Regions from separate parts of the Homo sapiens genome. Here region 1 is linked to region 2. The links are contacts of gene promoters, found by promoter capture Hi-C in human tissues and cell types (Jung and others, 2019). All regions are on one chromosome and are shown on one strand. Each heading gives the region's core, a stretch centred on a gene start or on the middle of the fragment in contact. The rest is flanking DNA. Distances are from core to core; before and after follow the strand shown. Region 1 overlaps LYST (lysosomal trafficking regulator). Region 2 holds the start of GNG4 (G protein subunit gamma 4).

What was found. The method cuts DNA at HindIII sites, captures the fragments that hold promoters and counts their contacts. A contact is called where the count stands out against the background at its distance.
Region 1: a contact is called between a fragment that was not itself captured here and the fragment with the promoter of GNG4 in region 2, in 2 of the 25 tissues and cell types used here (hippocampus and psoas muscle).

Annotation. Positions count from the first base shown.
Region 1 is chr1:235,697,128-235,703,953 of GRCh38, reverse strand. It overlaps LYST (lysosomal trafficking regulator), which reads left to right. Exons shown (of 53, transcript NM_000081.4): 45 at 977-1,207; 46 at 6,682-6,826. Among named protein-coding and RNA genes, the nearest start is that of GNG4, 51 kb to the right of the region's middle. The HindIII fragment of the contact is 8,005 bases long and covers 1-5,475 here.
Region 2 is chr1:235,647,206-235,653,674 of GRCh38, reverse strand. GNG4 (G protein subunit gamma 4) reads left to right here and starts at 3,891. Exons shown (of 4, transcript NM_001098722.2): 1 at 3,891-4,013. RefSeq lists enhancers at 2,075-2,926, 5,392-5,686 and a silencer at 3,917-4,026. The HindIII fragment of the contact is 19,046 bases long and covers 1-6,469 here.

The sequences.
Region 1 (6,826 bases), core at 224-2,723, 53 kb before region 2:
AGAGGGGAACAACGACACTGGTGCCTATTTTAGGGTGAGGGATAGGAGGAGGGAGAGGATCAGAAAAAATAACTACTGGGTACTAGGCTTAGTACCTGGGTGATGAAATCATCTGTACAACAAACCCCTGTGACTCAAGTTTACCCAAATAACAAACCTGCACATGTACTGCTGAACCTAAAGGTTTTTTTAAAAAAAGGATTTGATCACTGGTGCTGGGAGTTGTGGTGAGGAGAATGGAGTTGAAGATGACCTAACTTCTGAAATATCTTTGGAATTTTATTTTGGCATTTATAGAAATGTTATGTCTAGATATGTAATGAAAGCCACTATGACTGATTAAATATACGAAAAGCTAAGCCATCAAGTGGATATGTACAAAATATGGCTGATCTGTACTCAATTACTGACCGCCAGCTTTAGAAATAAGTAAATGTGCATTGCTCTCCATCTGACTCTACGGGATAATGACACTAAGAAAAAATATGCTTCTTAGTGCAGTAATTTTATTAGTACAATAATACCCTTTACATTTAAGAGCTTTGAATTTTCATTGCTGCTCTTTTGGTTTTATCCCCAATATTGATTAGAACCTAAATAATTATCTCTTCAACTATCTACCAGCATTGTATTTTAACTTCATTTTTGCCTTTTCCTATATATTGCTTTGGATAAGCAACTTCTTCAATAATTTAGTATCAGGTCATATATGATATTCTCAGATCTTAAATTAAAAGCTAATTTTATAAACATAACTAATTATAACCATCAGTCAAGATACGTTGTTTTTGTTCACCTATTCAGAAACATTGATACTTCTGATCTCAGTGAGACCATGAGTGATTGTTAACCTGAACAAAAGCATTTTTTCCATAACCTAGAATATAAAACAAAGTGTTGTTTTTCCCTTTGGTATTATTGTCAAGTCTTTCTTTTTACTACATATGTCTTGTTCCTTTACTCTTTCACTCTGCAGACATATTTTGGAATGGATGTCTCTGCAGTTGAAGATCCAGTTCAGAGACGAGCGCTAGAAACCATGATAAAAACCTACGGGCAGACTCCCCGTCAGCTGTTCCACATGGCCCATGTGAGCAGACCTGGAGCCAAGCTCAATATTGAAGGAGAGCTTCCAGCTGCTGTGGGGTTGCTAGTGCAGTTTGCTTTCAGGGAGACCCGAGAACAGGTCAAAGAAATCACCTATCCGGTATGTCATTTGGATTTCAATCGAGTGCAGCAAAACCTGATTAGACTCTTGTGATGCCAGGCACTCTCCCAGGTGATGAATAGCATGGTCCTGGCCTAAAGCTGTGTGCCAGTCAGTGCAAGACAGGTGCAGCAGCGAAAGCAGAATCCTGTGCGAGGTAAATGCTGTGTTAGCGATATGAGAGAGTGCTTTGGGGAGCTCAGAGGAAAAAAGAATTCATCGTTTCAGACGGTAACCTCCCTCAGGGAGCAGAGAGAATTGTTATTCCCAGGGAAAGCCTCGCAGGGCAGTGACATAATAGGATTTTTCAAGCAAGAAGAGAAGGACTAGAGAATAGTTTGAGCATTGGTGTGCCAGTGTACACATGCATACCATGGTCTTGGTTATCATCTACAATCAAAAGGATTGACCAGTGATGCGGATGTTTTGGTTTATACCTAAGGGGAACTTTACATATTTCTTTGGCCTCCTCAGGTTGTAATGATAAGAAGTATTGCCTCCAAAAATAGGAAGTAGGTATAATTTTTACTTCAAAATAGAAAAATCAAGCAAGCCTTAAAGCTAAAGTGGATTTTAATCTTCAACTCAATTCTTCGTTATAAAAACAGCATAAGATAGTAGAATGTGAATTGTAAGCACTGTAAGGGTTTGCAGAAGGAAATCACAGAAAATGAAAAGGTAAGGGAAAGACGTTGTAAAGGACCTTAAAGATGAAATAACTCAGTGTATCTCAAAGTGCAGTAATCTGTGACCTATTTTAAGAGGAAAAGGTTTTTACACACCTACACCTTGTTTTGACTATTATTCCTTGTAATATTACTTTATGTAAGACAGAACACTGGATATAAATTATTTGCGCTCATAGCTCACATATGTCAAATGTTCATGTTAAATACAAACAAAACTTATTCCACCAGTGAAATTCAATTTTAAAGCATTAATATGGTAGACAGTGTTGTTTTGCTAAAACTAAATTACAAGTGTTGAGTTTCATAATAGAAAACTATATTTTTTGTTTTCTGTTTTTGAAGCTTCACAAATCACTTTAGTCACTGTAATTACCAGGGTCACTATTTTTAACTACAATCTGTCACTTGATTGATTGATTGATTGATTGATTGAGATGAGTCTCGCTCTGTCGCCCAGGCTGGAGTGCAGTGGCACAATCTCGGCTCACTGCAACCTCTGCCTCCCGGGTTCAAACAGTTCTCCTGCCTCAGCCTCCCGAGTAGCTGGGATTACAGGCGCCCGCCACCACACCCAGCTAATTTTTGTATTTTTAATAGAGACGGGGTTTCACCATATTGGCCGGGCTGGTCTCGAACTCCTGGCCTCATGATCTGCCCGCCTCGGCCTCCCAAAGTGCTGGGATTACAGATGCGAGCCACCACACCCAGCCCAATCTGTCACTTTAACATGTCAGCATAATTTTACAATACATCCCTGAAAATTAATAAATGCCATTTAATTTACTACTATACTTACTGCTCGTTAGCTGTTAAAGTTGTATCTGAGCAGTATGTCTGCTCGCAGTGGGAACATGGTACCAGCCTGCTTCATTCCCACCTCAGAACCTTTGTGATGACTCTTTGCTCCACCTGGAATAACCACTCCCCAGATATATCCCCAGTTTGCTCCCTCATCTCATTCAAGTCTCTGCTCAGACATCTCTTCCTCAGAGTCTTCCCTGACCCCCATTTAAATGCTTTCCAAAAGCTCTGATTATATCTAAGTCTAATTATGTCTAAAACAGCTGTTCCGTCATCCTCAGATCCCTTCCCCTTCTTTGTTTTGGTGTATAGCACTTCTATCACCTGACATATTGTATATGTATTTGTTTATTTATTTGTCTATACTCCCATCCCAAATAGAATGTAACTCCATAAACACAAGGACTTTGTCTGTCTTGTTCATTACTGTGTCCCCAGTTCCTAGGAAGGTCCTGGGCATATAATAGACACTCAGCATTTTTTAAATTAATGTCTTCTCTGATGCAAATTCTTTAAGGTTTGGTTTGCTGCATTTCTGTGTGATGTGTAATGACATTTATGCCACTGCTTTTCTTTATTTGAACCACGGTGAAACTTTCGACACCATACTGCTTCTTGACTCTGTGGGCCTTCACTTGACATCTACACAAAATGCAAACACAAGCCTTGAAACCAAGCAACAGTACTCATTTATAAGGGGGTCATCTGGATGACCCAGGTATGCTTGTGTGAACTTCAGTTCACTATTGAAGTTCAAAACAATCAGAGCTGTATAAAAAGCATTTCAATAAAGCACTCCTCTTTAAATATTCTATGAGAAGTGGCTGTTCATATCCTTTGCCCACTTTTTCATGAGGTCGTTTGTTTTTTTCTTGTAAATTTGTACCAGTTCCTTGTAGATTCTGGATATTAGACCTTTGTCAGATGGGTAGATTGCAAAAATTTTCTCCCATTCTATAGGTTGCTTGTTCACTCTGATGGTAGTCTCTTTTGACGTGCAGAAGCTCTTTAATTAGATCCCAGTTGTCAATTTTGGCTCTTATTGCAATTGCTTTTGGCCTTTTCGTCATGAAATCTTTGCCCGTGCCTATGTCCTGAATGGTATTGCCTAGATTTTCTTCTAAGGTTTTTATGGTTTTGGGTTTTACATTTGTCTTTAATTCATCTTGAGTTAATTTTTGTATAAGGTGTAAGGAAGGGGTCCAGTTTCAGTTTTCTGCATATGGCTAGCCAGTTTTCCCAGCACCACTTATTAAATAGGGAATCCTTTCCCCATTGCTTGTTCTTATCAGGTTTGTTGAAGATCAGATGGTTGTAGATGTGTGGTGTTATTTCTTAAGTCTCTGTTCTATTCCATTGGTCTATATGTCTGTGTTGGTACCAGTATCATACTGTTTTGGTTACTGTTGGAAAAAAGCTCAGGATCACTGATCATTAGAGAAATGCAAATCAAAACCACAAGGAGATACCATCTCACACCAATCAGAATGGCGATTATTAAAAAGTCAAGGAACAATGGATGCTGGTGAGGCTGTGGAGAAATAGGAACGCTTTTACACCGTTAGTGGGAATGTAAATTAGTTCAACCCTTGTGGAAGACAGTGTGGCAATTCCTCAAGGATCTAGAACCAGAAGTACCATTTGACTCAGCAATCCCATTACTGGGTATATACTCAAAGGAATATAAATCATTCTACTCTAAAGACACATGCACTCGTATGTTTATTGCAGCACTATTTACTATAGCAAAGACATGGAACCAACACAAATGCCCATCAATGATAGACTAGATAAAGAAAATATATACCATGAAATACTATGCAGCCGTAAAAAATAATGAGATCATGTCATTTGCAGGGACATGGATGAAGCTGGAAGCCCTCATCCTCAGCAAACTAACACAAGAACAGAAAACCAGACACCGCTTGTTCTCACTCATAAGTGGGAGTTGAACAATGAGAACACATGGACACAGGGAGGGGAAAAACACACCCTGGGGCCACGCGGTGGAGTTGGTGGGGATGGGAGAGAGAGCATCAAGACAAAACCTAGATGATGGGTTGATAGGTGCAGCAAACCACCATGGCACACGTATACCTATGTAACAAACCTGCACGTTCTGCACATGTATCCCAGAACTAAAGTAAAAAAAAGAAAGGAGAATAATGATCATAAATATGCTATGATATAAAACAGTTGCCCTTGTATCTTTCTGTGTCATTGAAAAACTAGAAGTTTAAACTCTGCAACTCATATAAAAGGAAGTTCCTTTTATATGAATTCCTGGCAAGGAATTGTGAATGATAAATTATAACTAAAATTTAGCACACACATTTTTCTCAACTTTATTTGTTGATTTTTTTTGTTTTTGTTTTTGTTTTTTTGAGACAGAGTCTTGCTTTGTTGCCCAGACTGAAGTGCAGTGGCGTGATCTCGGCTTACTGCAAGCTCTGCCTCCCAGGTTCATGCCATTCTCCTGCCTCAGCCTCCCGAGCAGCTGGGACTGCAGGCACCCGCCACCACGCCCAGTTAAATTTTTTTGTATTTTTAGTAGAGACAGGGTTTCACCATGTTAACCAGGATGGTCTTGATCTCCTGACTTCATGATCCGCCCGCCTCGGCCTCCCAAAGTGCTGGGATTACAGGCTTGAGCCACCGCGCCCGGCCTTTCTCAACTTTAATATTGATAGATTTGGATCCCACAGGGGAGCCACAAAAAAACACTGTTAGACAAAATTTTAGAAGCTTGTTTTCAAAATGCCTGACCCTAACGTCTCTGTTCCCACATGAGCATTCCTGAAGCTCTTAAGCTTTTCCAGAGATACTCATTTTTTAGACCACTATGATATCATTTAACATGTCCCCTAAATAGTCTGACAGAATTATTAGAGCTCCTAAAGTGGCACGATTTTTTTAAAAGATAGTCTATACGTCAGTGATGCCTTTTTTTTCATTTATTTGGAAAATGACATAAGCAAGTTTCACTAAAAATCAGGTTTTTTACAGAAATGACTGAAAATTGCTTAATATATTATTTTTATTTTATGTAGCATTTCCTCTGAAGAGTTGAAAGTAAAATAATGGGTTAAACTCTTAAATGTATAAAAGGAGGGAATCCATTAAAAAAGAAGAGTTCAGTAGAGGATAAAACAGTCATAAGGAGAACAAAAAGAATAGAACTATTTGGGGAAACTCTTTAAAAGGGCATCATGTCTTTTCTTCTTCATTTTGAAACTTTTTAATAACTGTTTTTGCTTGAAGTGGAGGAAACCTTTTCATTACCGTTCGTGGGCAGCCAAATGGGTATCTCTCTAGAGTCTTCACTCACCTTTCTTCCCCCAAATCCTATTGTTCTTCAAGCTCTACCTTTTATTTTTCACTGACAATTCTTTCTCATCTCTTTTCTTCTCTAGTACTGGCTAGAGATTCTCTAATCCTCGCAATATGTTCCATAGATAAACACTTTCCCTTTCACTCATCACGTATCTATTTGAGATGAGAACCTGCTATGTTCCAGGCACATAGATGAATCAGAGGTGTTCCCTCTCTTCAAGGAGCTCATAGCTGAGTGAGGTTTCCTGTGCTACATGTGGTCTTGATTTCTATTACCATATGTACATATGGCTTGTCATACTACCAAATTACAGTCCTCCAGTAAGTATCAACTTTAGTTTAGGTATTTCAACTAGAAATAAGAAATGTACTAAATTTTTTTCTCTGCTCAAATTTCAAGGAATTTTGAATTATTAACCACATATTTTCATGCAAATTAGGCCAGAACCACAGAGTAAAACTCAAATAAGGGACAAATATTTCTATACGCTAAGCATGGGGAAGTAAAAAAAAATGCGTAAAATAATTATTGCCCTTACAGAGCTTATAATCCATATTACTTTCTCTTACTTTGTTTAGAGCTTAAATTAGAAGTAATTCTACACTTACCACCTTTTAAAAAGCCATACTTTTTATTTTTCTTCATTTTAGAGTCCTTTGTCATGGATAAAAGGCTTGAAATGGGGGGAATACGTGGGTTCCCCCAGTGCTCCAGTACCTGTGGTCTGCTTCAGCCAGCCCCACGGAGAAAGATTTGGCTCTCTCCAGGCTCTGCCCACCAGAGCAATCTGTGGTT
Region 2 (6,469 bases), core at 2,642-5,141:
TACAGGCGCCCACAAACACGCTCAGCTAATTTTTTGTATTTTTTAGTAAAGATGTGGTTTCACCATGTTGGCCAGGCTGGTCTCGAACTCCTGACCTCAGGTGATCCACCCACCTCGGCCTCCCAAAGTGCTGGGATTACCGGCGTGAGCCACTGTGCCTAGCCTGGAGATTTCTTCAGAGAAAGTATGCAAGCACAGTGAATGATATCTTTAAACTTCTTCAAGATGTCAATCTAAAAAAAAAATCCTCCAAAAACAAAGGCAAAATACTTATATTCAGAAAAACAAAAACAGACAATCACCAGCCAATCTGTATTACCAAAAGAAGGTTAAAAAATGTTCTACAGGCAGAAGGAAATGATATCAGATAGAAATCTGGATCTTCACAAATAAATGAAGAGCATCAGAAATGATAAAAGATTTTTCAAAATCATTTCTAAATGTTTCAAAAGAAAATTGACAGCTTAAAGTAAAATAATGTTCTGTGGGGTTATTACCTATGTAAAAGGGAGATATAACAAAAATAATACAAAGGATGGAAGAGGGGGAATGGAAGCACACACTATAAAGAATCTAATAGTGAAGAAGAAGTGGCATGATGTTATTTGAAGGTAGTCGACGGTAAATTAAAGATGCATTTTATAAACCCTAGAACAAAGAAAGAGGAGGAAAATGAAGGTCAATACTTGAGATAAAATGGAATACTAAAGTATACTCAGGCAGGAAAAAAGGAATGAAGAATAGGACAAACAGAAAACAAATAGCAAGTTGGTAGTTTTAAACCCAACCACATGATAATTACATAAGAAGTAAATGAACTAAACATTCCAATTAAAAGTAGAGATGGGGTTTCACCATGTTGACCAGGATAGTCTCGATCTCTTGACCTCATGATCCTCCCGCCTCGACCTCCCAAGGTTTTCCTTCTTTATCCCTAGTCATATTCTTTGTTCTGAAGTCTTCTTTGTTTTTATCTATATAACCACTGCGGATTTTTTACTATTAGTTGTCAAGCTGACAGATCGTCAAGCTGAATTTTAAAAGCAGATCCAGCTCTGTGCTGCCTACGAAGATGGAGAATCCCACTTTTAAGAACAAAGATACAGGCCGGGCGTGGTGACTCACGACTGTAATCGCAGCACTTTGGGAGGCCGAGGTGGGAGGATCACCCGAGGTCAGGAGTCTGAGACCAGCCTGGACAACAAGTTGAAATCCGGTCTCTACTAAAAAGGCAAAAATTAGCTGGGTGTGGTGGTGGACGCCTGTAATCCCAGCTGCTCAGGAGGCTGAGGCAGGAGAATCACTTGAACCTGGGAGGCGGAGGTTGCAGTAAGCTGAGATGGCACCATTGCACTCCAGCCTGGGCGACAAGAGCGAGAGTCTGTCTCAAAAAAAAAAAAAAAAAAAAAAGATACAGATAGATTTAAAAATTAAAAGGATATAAACACATATCATGCAAACACTAATAGTAAGAAATCTGCAGTGGTTATATAGATATAAACAAAGAAGACTTCAGAACAAAGGATATGACTAGGAATAAAGAAGAAAAACCTTGGGAGGCCGAGGAGGGCAGCTCATGAGGTCAAGAGATCGAGACTATCCTGGCCAACACGGTGAAACCCCATCTCTACCAAAAATACAAAAATTAGCTGGGCATGGTGGCGTACGCCTGTAGTCCCAGCTACTCTGGAGGCTGAGGCAGGAGAATCGCTTGAACCCAGGAGGAGGAGGTTGTAGTGAGCCGAGATCGCGCCACTGCACTCCAGCCTGGGCGACAGAGCGAGACTCCCTCCCACTCCGCAAAAAAAATAAATAAATAAGAAGAAAGAAAACTGATACCCAGGGTCCTGGTGCCAGACTTTACACTACTGCAGCTATCCTGGGTGATGTCCAGAGATGAACGGAATCAGAATTACCTGGAGGGTTTGGGGAATCACAGGTTGCTGGGCCCCACCCCCAGAGTTTCTGATTCCTTAGGTCTGGGTGGGGCCTGGGAGTCTGCATCTCTAAAAGATTCCCAGGTGACACGCTGATTCTACTGGTCTTGGGATCCACTCTGGAACCACTTGTTGACTGACCTCTTCCTCCTGTTTAAAACTGACATGATCCTATCTTGAATGATAGTGTAACAATTAGAAAGATAAAATAAGGAAATGATGCGCTTGAAAGTGTAGACACTGATTTCCCTTGTGATTGATTAATTGAGATTGGGATTTGGGATAAAAGGAAACCTAGGATTCTGCCTTAGCCAACCAGTCGGGGGCGGGAGGTGGGCAGGAAATGCAGGAGAAATAAGATTTTGGGGTGAAAACAATGAGCTAGGGTTTGGATTTGCTTGAATTTTCAATGCAGTACTCATATATCTTTCTCACTTTTAAAAGTCTGTGAGGTGGACATGGACTGGCTTCGTCGGTTTGCCAAGGTTTAATTTTGTGCCTTAAATGGGCACTTGAGAGCTTTGTAAAAACCGATGTGTTTGCTGGCCCCGTGTTTACGGGCCTTTGTGATCTCCGCGTTCGCATCCAATCTGGCCCTTGGGCTCCGAGAAGGTACACGTGTGTGTAGGGCAAGGTCCAACCAGTGGGGCCAGGGATCTGAGCAACAAGCGCGCCCTGTGTCCTTTGTGGCAGGGACCGCTTGTGGACGGCGGATGAGGATGAGGCGCCCAGATCTTCCCGAAATATTTCCTAATCGTTCATCATGATGTTATGTTGTTGTTTTCACAAAGGGAATTAATATTGGCCTCCTTTTCTACAAATCTTGCCAACACTGCGTGAAATGTTTTCGTTGCTTCTCTATTCCCAAGGTTTCGTATTATTTTACCAAGTCGGAAAATGGACGGCGCTTAAACTGTTTTTTCCCTGAAAGGAAGAGGGCTGTAATCACTAAAGTGTTTTAAAATCTCCAGCGCAAAAGCCTGCGGTGCCACAGGGACGAGGCCTGGAGAGCAGTCGCTCCTAGAACCGGGGCGCGAAGGGCACCCCCGCCTCCAGCACGCGCCCTCCGCCCTCCCGGCCTCGCTCCCCCCGGAGTGGGGGCCTCGCCGGCCCCTGGTCCCCGTCACTCAGCAACGTCGGGTCAGCCTTCGCCGGGTTAGTGGCGACGCGGCCGCGCGAATTCGCACAGGTATTCCGCGTTTCTCCGCCGTTCCCCGCCTTGGCCGGAGGCTTCCGAGGCGTCCCTTGGTGCAGGGTGGGAAGCGGCCCGCGCCCCAACGGCCCAGGCGCTGGAGCTCACCCCGAGCGAGGGCGGTACCTGAGGCTTCGGGGAGCCCGCGCTGACCGCGGCCCCGTCCCCAGACCCCTCCAGCAACCCCGGCCCCGCCCCAGACCCCTCCGGTGATTTCCCCCCCGGCCCCGCCCCGCAGATCCCTCCAGTGATCTCCCCCCCGCCGCGCCCCCCAGACCCCCCCCCAGTGATTTACCCCCCGGCCCCGCCCCACAGACCCCTCCAGTGGTCCCCCGGCCACGCGGGCTCCGGGGGGGCGGGGCGGGGGCGCGGCCCTTTGCTGGGACAGGGGGCGTGGGCCCGAGTAGCGGGCGGGGGGCGCGGGCCCGGGCTGGGGCGGGGGCGGGGGCGGGGAGCGCGGGAGCCCCGGTGACGCAGCAGTGACGTCGGTGGCAGCGGGCGGGATTTCCCGGGCGAGACCCCGCGGCGGAGTGGGCGCGGCCAGCGTGGAACGGGGGCGAGGGTCGCAGAGTCGCCGGCTCTCCCTTCCCCAGTCTGGGCCCCCACGGCACAGGGGGCCGAGCAGAAGCCCCCAGCGTCCAGGGCCGGGGGAGGGTCCGCCTGCGCCCCCAGGCCCGCGTGGTCGGGCCCTGCAGGGCGGGAGGCGCGGCGCGGGGCGGGGCCGGTGACGGGACGCGGAGACCCCGCGGGCGGCGGGAGGGGCACGAGGCGCGCGTTTGCACCCGAGCCCGGCCCGCGCCCCGATGCGGAGCGATGCCGCTCGGCCTGGCCGCCCCCCGCGAGCACCGCGCTGCAGACGAAGCCCGCGCGTGATCCCGCTCCGGGTAAGTGGGCGCCCGGCCGGAGCCCCGGGTGTCCGCGGGGAGAGCCCAGCCCGGTGCAGCCAGACGCGGAAGGGAAACTCGGGGTGAAAGTCTCCGGACCTAGGGAGACGGCTCTGGCGCCGGTGTGGTCCTCACGCCGCCAGCTGCTGCTGCACGCGACACAAAGACCTGTGGTTCCCTCGGCCTCCTCTCCCGGGACCTCCCGCCGGGCCCCGGGGAAGCCCGCGCGCGGGTGTGGACAGCCCCCTCGGAGCGCGTCCAGGGGCTTCCGGGGCTGGGGGCGCCCGGTCCCTCCGGCATGAGGCAGGCGGGGGCTCGGGGGTCCCCTCTTCCATTTGTAGGTCACAGAGCGTTTGCTGTTTTCCCAGCGGGGACGTCCCCCGTGGAAAAGGACCTCAGTGGCAGGAGATGGCGTGGCTGGTTGGGCGTTTTCTTTGGGGAAATGTTTCTGGCGAGTGCCTGAGGAAGCCCTCCTGGCTCCCCAGCAGCCCAGACGCCGCCTCGGGAGCACTCGGGGTGACGCTGGAGCCACCGCAGCTGAGGGTGGTTTTCCTCACCTCCTTGATGGCGTCTGTCCCCGAGGCTGGTGCTGAACTGAAATGTGCTTCGTTCGCCGCGCGCGCCCGGCAGCAACCGGGGAGCTTTGTTTGGCTTGATTTTTTAAATTGCCTTGGAAATAACGCGAAACGGCGGGAGGGTGAAGTGGGGAGGAGGACAGAGCGTGGTGGGGAAAGACTCCTTAATTTAAGATTTGCTTCATTTCGAGTATTTGGGGCTAAGGTGTTAGGAAACCCGAAAATGTTAAAGTTTGATCAAGTAATAAAGTGGATGATGGACGCCGGGCCTCCCACCGTCTCCCCGGCCCCGCGGCTGCCGCGTCTCTCCTCTACCCGTCGCCTCCCAGGACTGTCAAATGCTGGCACCGGGCCCGTGCCTCTCAGCCGGAGCAAAAGGCCGCCTAGGCTGCGCCCGTGTGCTCCATTAAAACGTGCCAGTCCTGTCGTCTGCTCATGAGTGAGGTGTGCCGCTTCCCACAGTGGACAGGAAATTTGCAGCGGCGAATGCCTCACAGTAGCCATGGGGGACCTGGGCTCTGCGGCCGGCTTCTCGATTCCTCCCGCAACTCCTTTTCCTGATTTTTGTATGAGGCGGGGGAGGGGAACCAGCCGCCATCTGATCTGGCCCTGTTCCCTGCAAGAGGCGACTGGGGGGACAACTAAGTTGATAAATGGAAAGCCTTTTCCAGCCCGGAGAAACAGACAGAGGACCTATAAACTGGATTGTTTTTGAAATGTAGGGTTTGCTCAGTGACCGGTCATGATAAGAGATGGCTGTGGCACTTAATAAATAGTAGGTGTAAATGCAAATGCAAGGTTTACAGTGATGCCTTGCCTGTTAATGAGCAGCCTCACCATGGGGTTAGTTAGGCTGAAATGACTATTTAGGACAATGGACTTCCTGTTGGCCCCCACCTCCATGCACAACTCCAGTGCTCATAGGCCTTAAAATTCGCCCAAGGAAGCCAGTGGAGGATGTAGGCCTGGCTCAGAAACAGCACAGCTAAGGGGCCATTCCCAGCAGTCCTATGATTGGCGTTTCTCATGCAAACTGATGGTGGAGAAACCAGAAAAAAAAAAAGCTTTTCCTAGATTCACTTTACAGTTTTTAAAGCAAAAGTGACAGTCCCTGAAGTCCCCCAATATTCAGTGCATTCTTTGAAATGATAGAACATCAGGTGGGAACATCGCCTGTAATCCCAGCACTTTCAGAGGCCGAGGCAGGCAGATCACTTGAGGTCAGGAGTCCGATACCGGCCTGGCCAACGTGGTGAAACCCCGTATCTACTAAAAATGCAAAAAATTAGGCGGGCGTGGTGGTGCACGCCTGTAATCCCAGCTACTTGGGAGGCTGAGGCACGAGAATCACTTGAACCTGGGAGGCAGAGGTTGCAGTGAGCTGAGATGGTGCCACTGCACTCTGGCCTCAAAATAAATAAACAACATGAGGTGGGAACATGGACCCTGACCCCTGGGGAAGCAAGAGCCACAGCTGTCTCAGGAGGGCAGGAACACTGTAAAATGTGTACAATGCTCCTTCCCCCAAGACCTACACGCCCAAACCCACGCCTACCACAAAACTACTGCTTATGCAGAAAGCAAAGACTAAGGTCTGTACCCAACAATTTCTTCTTTTATTTATAGCTGCATCTCACTTATTTCACTATCACATTTTTCCTAGTTTGTCTCAGTTTCTGCTTGGAGAGGGGAGAATGCCTAATAATGTATGTCAGAAGATTGCCCCTTTCTTCGTGGAATTTTGAAGTAGTAACTTTAAAATATTACCTGATTTTTGTTCTTGAAACACCTTTTAAGGATATACTGCTATCTAATCTTGCTGGTTTTCCTTTTTTAAAATTTGGTATTTTTATTCATTCTAGATATACTTAGGCATAGAGA